2 separate regions of the Homo sapiens genome follow, and region 1 is linked to region 2. Evidence: promoter capture Hi-C in 16 types of primary human blood cells and fetal thymus (Javierre and others, 2016). All regions are on one chromosome and are shown on one strand. Each heading gives the region's core, a stretch centred on a gene start or on the middle of the fragment in contact. The rest is flanking DNA. Distances are from core to core; before and after follow the strand shown. Region 1 overlaps LOC107986432 (a long non-coding RNA gene). Region 2 holds the start of LINC01949 (long intergenic non-protein coding RNA 1949).

Region 1 (3,868 bases), core at 904-3,403, 4.0 Mb before region 2:
GACAGGATGGGAAGTGGGCATTCTGGGCAGAAAAAACTGAAGGTCCCAAGCCCCGAGTTATTACAGAGCATAGATATGTCTGGAAATTCAACACAAATTAGCATAGATGGAGTAATGTAGGAGTGGAAAATCAGACCCTTTTTCTTCCTATCTTGATTCTGAAGACAGCGAAGTGCTATTCTGGAGTTTTTAGCAGGGGAGTAATGGAACATATTTTTACTTCAGAAATATTCCTCCGGTGAAAAATCATGCAGAATACAGATTAGGGTTTATGTAGTCTCTTAACATAGCAGTGTTTGGTTTTTTTCTACCAAAAGTGTTTTGTGATGTTTTCCAAGGAATTCTATCTTATCATTGCTAAGAGATAAAAGTCTCATTGTGTATGGATCAGGATGTGCTGTATTAGGAAAGATTGGAAGTGAGGGGACATGTTCAGAGCTACCAGTATTGTCCAGAACATTGATGATGATAGTCTGAGCAAGGGCAGAGTCAGAGGAAAGGGAGAAGACAGGATGAATTCACAAACAGACTAAGCAATTTAAAGAAGGGGCTTAGGTGGGAACAAACATCAGAGCTTACTTCAGTTCTTTATTTTGTGTGAGTAGGGAGATGATGATGTTACTCACCCAAAAAGGGCCCAAGACATAGGCAGAAGAAAAATTTGCAGAAGAAAGAAAAGGTTGCTAGCTGAGCATGGTGGTGTACACCTATGGTCCCAGCTGCTCTGGAGGCTGGGGCGGAAGGATTGCTTGAGCCCAGGAGTTTAAAGGCTGCCATGAGCTATGATCATGCCACTGCACTCTAGCCTGGGTGAAGACAGAGCAAGACCCTGTCTCTACAATAAAAAGAAAGAAAAGTTTGGTTTTTGAAATGCTGATTCTGAGGTGACTGAGGCACATCTGAGTGGAAATGTTGAGCTTTCATTTGGAAAAAATAAAATGCTCAGACTCTTACAGACCAAAAAAAGGGAGGATAAATTGTGGAGTACTATCAGTGTATAGCAGTCTCAGTACAGGTCTGAATGAAAGCAAGAGAGATTAGCCGGGGTAAAAGGAGTGCTAAGTGAGGAAGCTTAGAGGCCTCTTACATTTTGGCAGCCAATCAAATGAAAGGAGAGACAAAAGTAGGAGGAAAACAACACCAAAGCAAGGCTTGGCGTCCAGAACAGCACAGTCACAGCAGGCACTTGAAACACTGCCATGGAGCAGTTTTTTTTTTTTTTTTTTTTTTTTTGACATGGAGTCTCACTCTGTCACCCAGGCTGGAGTGCAGTGGTGTGATCTTGGCTCACCGCAACCTCTGCCTCCTGGGTTCAAGTGATTCTCCTGCCTCAGCCTCCTAAGTAGCTAGGATTACAGGTGTGCGCCACCATAGCCAGCTAATTTTTGTGTTTTTAGTAGAGACAGGGTTTCACCATTTTGGCCAGGCTGGCCTCGAACTCCTGACCTCAGGTGATCCACCTGCCTCGGCCTCCCAGAGTGTTGAGATTACAGATGTGAGCCACTGCGCCTGGCCCAGAAGAGGCTTCTATACTTGCTCCTATAGAAGTCCTTGGAGACCTTTTGGAAAAGTCTAGTAGAAGAGTGGGAGTGGAGGCCAGATTATGGTGAATGAGAAGAAGGCACAGATGTGGAAATGTCTTCTTTCAAGAAATTTTCCAAAATGGCTAGAGACTGCAAAAAATGCAGGATGGAGGAAAAAGTCTCTCGAGAAGAAGAAACATTTGAAAATGTGCATCAAGATTAGAAATGGGTGCAATTAAGGGGAAGACATTGAAGATGGAAAAGCCTGGGGATAATGGTGGGGCAAACTCTTTAATGAGCTGTGAGGGATACATGAGGACTCTTTTTCCATTGCTCAGAATCATTTTGGCAGCTTATACTACTTTGGCTCTGAAATGCAACCATTTCTAAGCCAGGGTCCCGTGGAGGAAGTCTCTTCTGTGCTAACCATTCTGTGAGAGGAGAAATACCAGCAAGAGAGATGTAGATGCAACAAATGCATTGCAAATTGATTTACTGAATATACTCCACTCAACTGAAAATAAACACAATTTCAAAAATTATTAAGTGAGCTTAATTTGGGAAAATTAATGTTAAAATGATGGCTTTTGAGGCCTCATTTTTTTTTTGATTCTATGAAAATCACCAAAGATATATATCTGAAGTATAAACCAACCGTATTTTTATTTATTTCTTTGTTTTATAGATTAGTGGTGATGAAAACAAGCCACTTCTTATTTTCTTTAAAAGAATTGGGTTATTATGAGAAAATGTCTGTGAAAAAGTCCTGTAGAAATATTAATTTAGATTTCTACAGTTCTAAAAAACGTAATGGTATAGTAGCCTTAATTGACTCCAAATAATCTCATTTCTACAGATAATATATAGTCATGCACTGCATCATGACATCTTGGTCAACAATGGAACACATATACTTCCATAAGATTAAAATGGAGCTGAAACATTACTCTTGCCTAGTGCCATGCCATCATAGCCGTCATAATGTCATAGCACACTGCATTCATTACTCATGTATTTGTGGTGATGCTTGTGTAAACAAACCTGTGTGGCCAGTTATATAAAAGTATAGCACATATGATTTTGTATAGTACATAATACTTGATAATGGTAATGAATGATTATGCTACCGGTTGATGCATTTACTATAATGTATGTTAAATCATTATTTTAGAGTGTAATCTTACTTACAAAAAAATAATCTACAAAACAGCCTCAGGTAGGTCCTTCAGATGGTACGTGCACATCTTGTTTTATTGCACTTTGGTTTATTGCGCTTTGAAGACAATGCATTTTTTCCAAATTGAAGATTTGTGTCAACCCTGCATTGAGCAAGTCTATTGGTGCCATTTTTTCAATAGCATGTGTTCACTTTATGTCTCTGTTACATTTTGGTAGTTCTTGCAATATTTCAAACTTTTTCATTATTATTATAATATTCTTTATTTTTGATGTTAGTGTCATAATTGTTCTGGGTGCCACAAACTGCATCCACAGAAGACAGCAAACAATAAATGTTGTATGCGTTCTGACTGCTCCACTCACTGGCTGTTCCCCTATCTCTCTCCCTCTCCTCAGGCCTCCCTCTTCCCTGAGACACAATAATATTAAAATTAGGCCAATTAGTAACCCTACAATGGCTTCCAAATGTTCAAGTGAAGGGAAGACTCTCATTATCTCTTACTCTAAATCAAAGCTATAGATGATTAAGCTTAGTGAGGAAGGCATGTCAGAAGCTGAGATGGTCTGAAAGCTGGGTGGCCTAAGCCAAACAAACTGTGACTACAAAGGAAAATTCCGCCAGGCGCGGTGGCTCACGCCTGTAATCCCAGCACTTTGGGAGGCCGAGGCAGGTGGATCGCGAGGTCAGGAGATCGAGACCATCCTGGCTAACATGGTGAAACCCTGTCTCTACTAAAAATACAAAAAAATTAGCCGGGCGTGGTGGCGGGCGCCTGTAGTCCCAGCTACTCAGGAGGCTGAGGCAGGAGAATGGCGTGAACCCAGGAGGTGGAGCTTGCAGTGAGCCGAGATTGCGCCACTGCACTCTAGCCTGGGTGACTGATCAAGACTCCGTCTCAAAAACAGAAAAAAAAAAAAAAAAAAAAGAAAATTCCCTGCAGGAAATTAAAAGTGCTACTCCAGTGAACATGAATGATAAGAAAATGAAACAGCCCTGTTGCCGATATAAAGAAAGCTTTAGTGGTCTGGATAGAAGATCAGACCAACCACAGTATTCCCTTAAACCAAAGCCTAATCTAGAGCCAAGACCTAACTCTCTTCAATTTGTGAAGCTGAGAGAGGTGAAGAAGCTGCAAAAGAAAAGTGTGAAGCTAGCAGAAGTTGAT
Region 2 (3,673 bases), core at 267-2,766:
TTTTGAACTGTGTGTTGGTAGGAGGTACTCCTGACAATTTTCACTTTACAAACATTTATTTCTTGATTTAACCTACCACCAGGATGACGGCTGTCACTCACTGATTCACCAAAAATTGGACAAATTGCTTACTTATTTTTGTTGATTTTTCTTAAATGTATGTATAGCTTACATTTATATCAATATTCAACATTAGAAGTGTTTCAAGTCTTCACTTAGAAATTTGTTGATGTTTTTGTGATACAAATATGCCATAGGAACTAATTCTTGTTTATATTAATTAGCCTATAGTAAAACTGGTTTTGTTACATGGCATCTCACTTGAAGTTGAAGTTTCCAAGACCCTATCAACAACGTTGAGAACTTACTGTCATAGGTTGAAAAACTGTACACCAGGAACCGGACCAAAATAGATCTGACAGTAATATTGATATTAGAAAACAACTTTAAGTCTAATAATGATTTTTCTCTAAAGAGGTTGATTACTTCATGATAGAAGGATCATGTCACCATGATGACACAGACTGTTAGTGCACATCAATATCCATTTTGTCCTCTTCTTTTTTGGCATACAACCAAAACTTACATAGGCTTTTTATCATTTTACTGGGCCTATGTAACTGAGTTTTAGCCAGTGGAATATGTCCAAGTGACATTTGCCACTTCTAGGTCTGGCACATTAACACTTGATGTATTACATTTCAGACCCTCTTATCATTCTGCAGTGTGTTTGGCGATCTGTTGTTTAAGATCTATATGCACTGGTTACTGTTGCTTGCCTTCCATTCCTACCCTTACTAATCAGATTCCTATTATAGCTACTTCTGTCCTTGATTCATTTTGTATATTAGATGTGTGTGTGTTCATGTGCATGCATGCACCCTCACATGTAGGTGTATATGGGAGTGGTGGTAAAGACAGGATATTTCTTCAGTTCATGGGATTTTATTTCAGGAGAATTCAAACATTCACGTATTGGAGAAGATGACACATTTCTTGAATGTCTTGGGCTTTGAGCTGAATGCACTAACTAGAAGGGACTTCAGATTGTCCTCCTTCGGGGGAGGTAAGTATATTCTTCATATACAGGTAAGAGTGAAATGATAGAAGAATGTTCCTCCTCTCCTTTTCTTCCTGGACAACAGATCAAATATTTCTCAGATCTTTTACAGCTGAATTGGAGTCACATGGACAGGTATGATCTTAAAATATAAAAAATTATTTTAAAATTACATGCTAAAATTTTATAAAAATAAATGCTAAAACTAACTTAAACGGAAGCATTTGATTAAAAAATTTATCCAAAAAAGTTTGAATTTTATATGAAACAGGATAGAAGATGAAAAAGCTAAAGAAATAAAATATAAATAAATTATGGCTGGGGACAGTGGCTCACACCTGTAATCCCAGCACTTTGGGAGGCTGAGGTGGGAGGACTGATTGAGGCTAGGAGTTTGAGACCTGTTATTTGAGGCACATGGGAAGGAAAGTTTTCTTTGAGATATTCCACATTTTATAATATTCTTCAAGAGATTTACAGAGTTCCTTGAGTGAATTGTTGGTTTGTTCTTAATACTGAATTTCCTATTCAAATTTATTTAGAAGTTCATTTCTTACAGTGATCTCATCTCCTATTAAGATATTCTTCAAGGTAGGTTCTTGGCCAGTTTCTCAATGACAGATTTTTAAAAATATTGTTAATCTTTTTATTAATATGAGAACATAATTGTTCCAGATCTGGAGGCCATCCTTTAAGCTTCTTGCAACAGTCTGGGAGCAAAGAGTTTACTCGCCACTGGGTAGTGGGCCATGGACACCCCAGTCTCCACCAGAAGTTCGGGATTGCAAAATGGGACTCTGGCAGCAAATTTCAAACTGTATGCCAGACCTGGCCCTTTGCAGGTGGGCATCACTAAAAATTTAAATTACCAAAATTGACTCAAGAGTAAATCTATGTCTGAGGAGAAAGCCTTTGGAAAAATTGAATTAGTAAGCAAAAACCTACCCAAAATAAATAACAGTAAGTCTAGAAAATTTTACACAGGGATTACCAACAAACATTCAAAGCACAGAAAAATCTCTTTAGCACAAAATGCTACAAAATACAGAAAAAGAGGAAAATTCTGTAGTTTCTCTCATGAAGTTAATATATTCTAGTTAGCTGAACTAGAAAAATAAGAGAAAGAAAAATTATAGGTTAATCTTCCTTATGAGTACATGCAAGTATCATAAGATGTTGACAAATTGAATCAAGCATTTTAAAAAATGCATTATGATCAAATATGATTTATCCTAGAAATAATGTATGAGAGTTATAAAATTCCCATTAACATTAGGAACAAGCATTAATACTTATTATCTCCACCAATAATCATCATTGCTCTGGAGTTCCTAACCAATGAAATAAGAAAGAAATAACCAGTTATATGGATTAGGGAAGATCAAATATTGATTATTTGAATATTTTTTTTTATAGAAAATCCAATAATTGTACAGCTGAAGAACTGGAATAGGAGAGTTAAGCAAAGTTTCTACATACAAGAGCAAAGTGGTCAAATCAATAGGTTATCTGTAGGCCAGTGCTAATTACATTGACATGGTGGCCTTAAAATTTTTACATGCAATTCATAAATCAGTTTCACTGATATTACTTTACCAGATATTGATATTCTAATGTTGTAATTATACAACTGTATTATTGTGTCAGAAATAAAATTAATAGACCAACAAAACAAAACTCAGAACAGATTCACATATTTGATAACTTGGTGTATGACAAGTGTGACATTAAAATTCAGGAGTAAAATAAAAAAATAACAAATAATGCCGGGATAATTGGTTAGTCACATGGGAAAAAGTCAGAAAGATCTCTGCCTCACTCTATTTACATGGAATATACTTCAGATGAAAGAAACTTAAATACAAAGAGCAAAACTTTAAGACTTTTAGAAAAAGATAGGAGAATTTATGACTTCCAGTAAGGAAAGCTTTCTTAAGCTAGATGCAATGGCATAAACGACAAAATGCATTTTTTTTATAACATTAAATAAAACATGTGTTCCGTAAAAGACACCAAAATACAATTAAGAGATAAGTTACAGTGTCTTAGTCCATTCTGGCTGTATAAAAAAATACCATAGACTGAGTGGCTTAAACAACATTTATTTCTCATAGTTTCTGGAGGCTGAGCAGTCCCAGTCAAAGAGAGCCCACTTTCTAGTTTATAGACCACCATCTTCTCACTATGTCCTCACATGGCAGAAAAACAAGATGGCTCTCTGGAGTACTTTTTACAAGAGCACTAATCCTATTTATGAGGGATTCACCCTCATGATATAATCACTTTCCAATGGCCTCAGATCCAAATACTATCACTTTGGAAGGCAGGATGGGGGTGGGAGGATTGGATTTCAACATAGGAGTTTTTTGGGGACACAAACATTCAGTCCATAGCACACAGACTGGGAGAAAATATCTGTGATGCATACATCTTACAAAATAATTCATATCTAGACTATAAAGAGCTCCTCAGGTAGATAAGAAATATCAAAAGAGAACAAAAACATAAACATAGTTCACAGAAGAGGAGACTCAGATGGCCATAAATATATGGAAAAAATGCTTAACCATTTATCATGAAAATGTGAATGTGAACCAGAGTTTACCTATAACA

Evidence for each region. The method cuts DNA at HindIII sites, captures the fragments that hold promoters and counts their contacts. A CHiCAGO score of 5 or more calls a contact.
Region 1: a fragment that was not itself captured here is called in contact with the fragment with the promoter of LINC01949 in region 2 in 1 of 17 cell types (M0 macrophages); the score reaches 5.8 in M0 macrophages.

What each region holds. Positions count from the first base shown.
Region 1 is chr5:91,208,484-91,212,351 of GRCh38, reverse strand. All of the region lies in intron 3 of LOC107986432 (a long non-coding RNA gene), which reads left to right. Among named protein-coding and RNA genes, the nearest start is that of LUCAT1, 100 kb to the left of the region's middle. The HindIII fragment of the contact is 2,160 bases long and covers 1,074-3,233 here.
Region 2 is chr5:87,237,044-87,240,716 of GRCh38, reverse strand. LINC01949 (long intergenic non-protein coding RNA 1949) reads left to right here and starts at 1,516. Exons shown (of 3, transcript NR_130914.1): 1 at 1,516-1,651; 2 at 1,736-1,902. The region is part of intron 2 of LOC101929380 (a long non-coding RNA gene); the gene reads right to left. The HindIII fragment of the contact is 4,009 bases long and covers 1-1,758 here.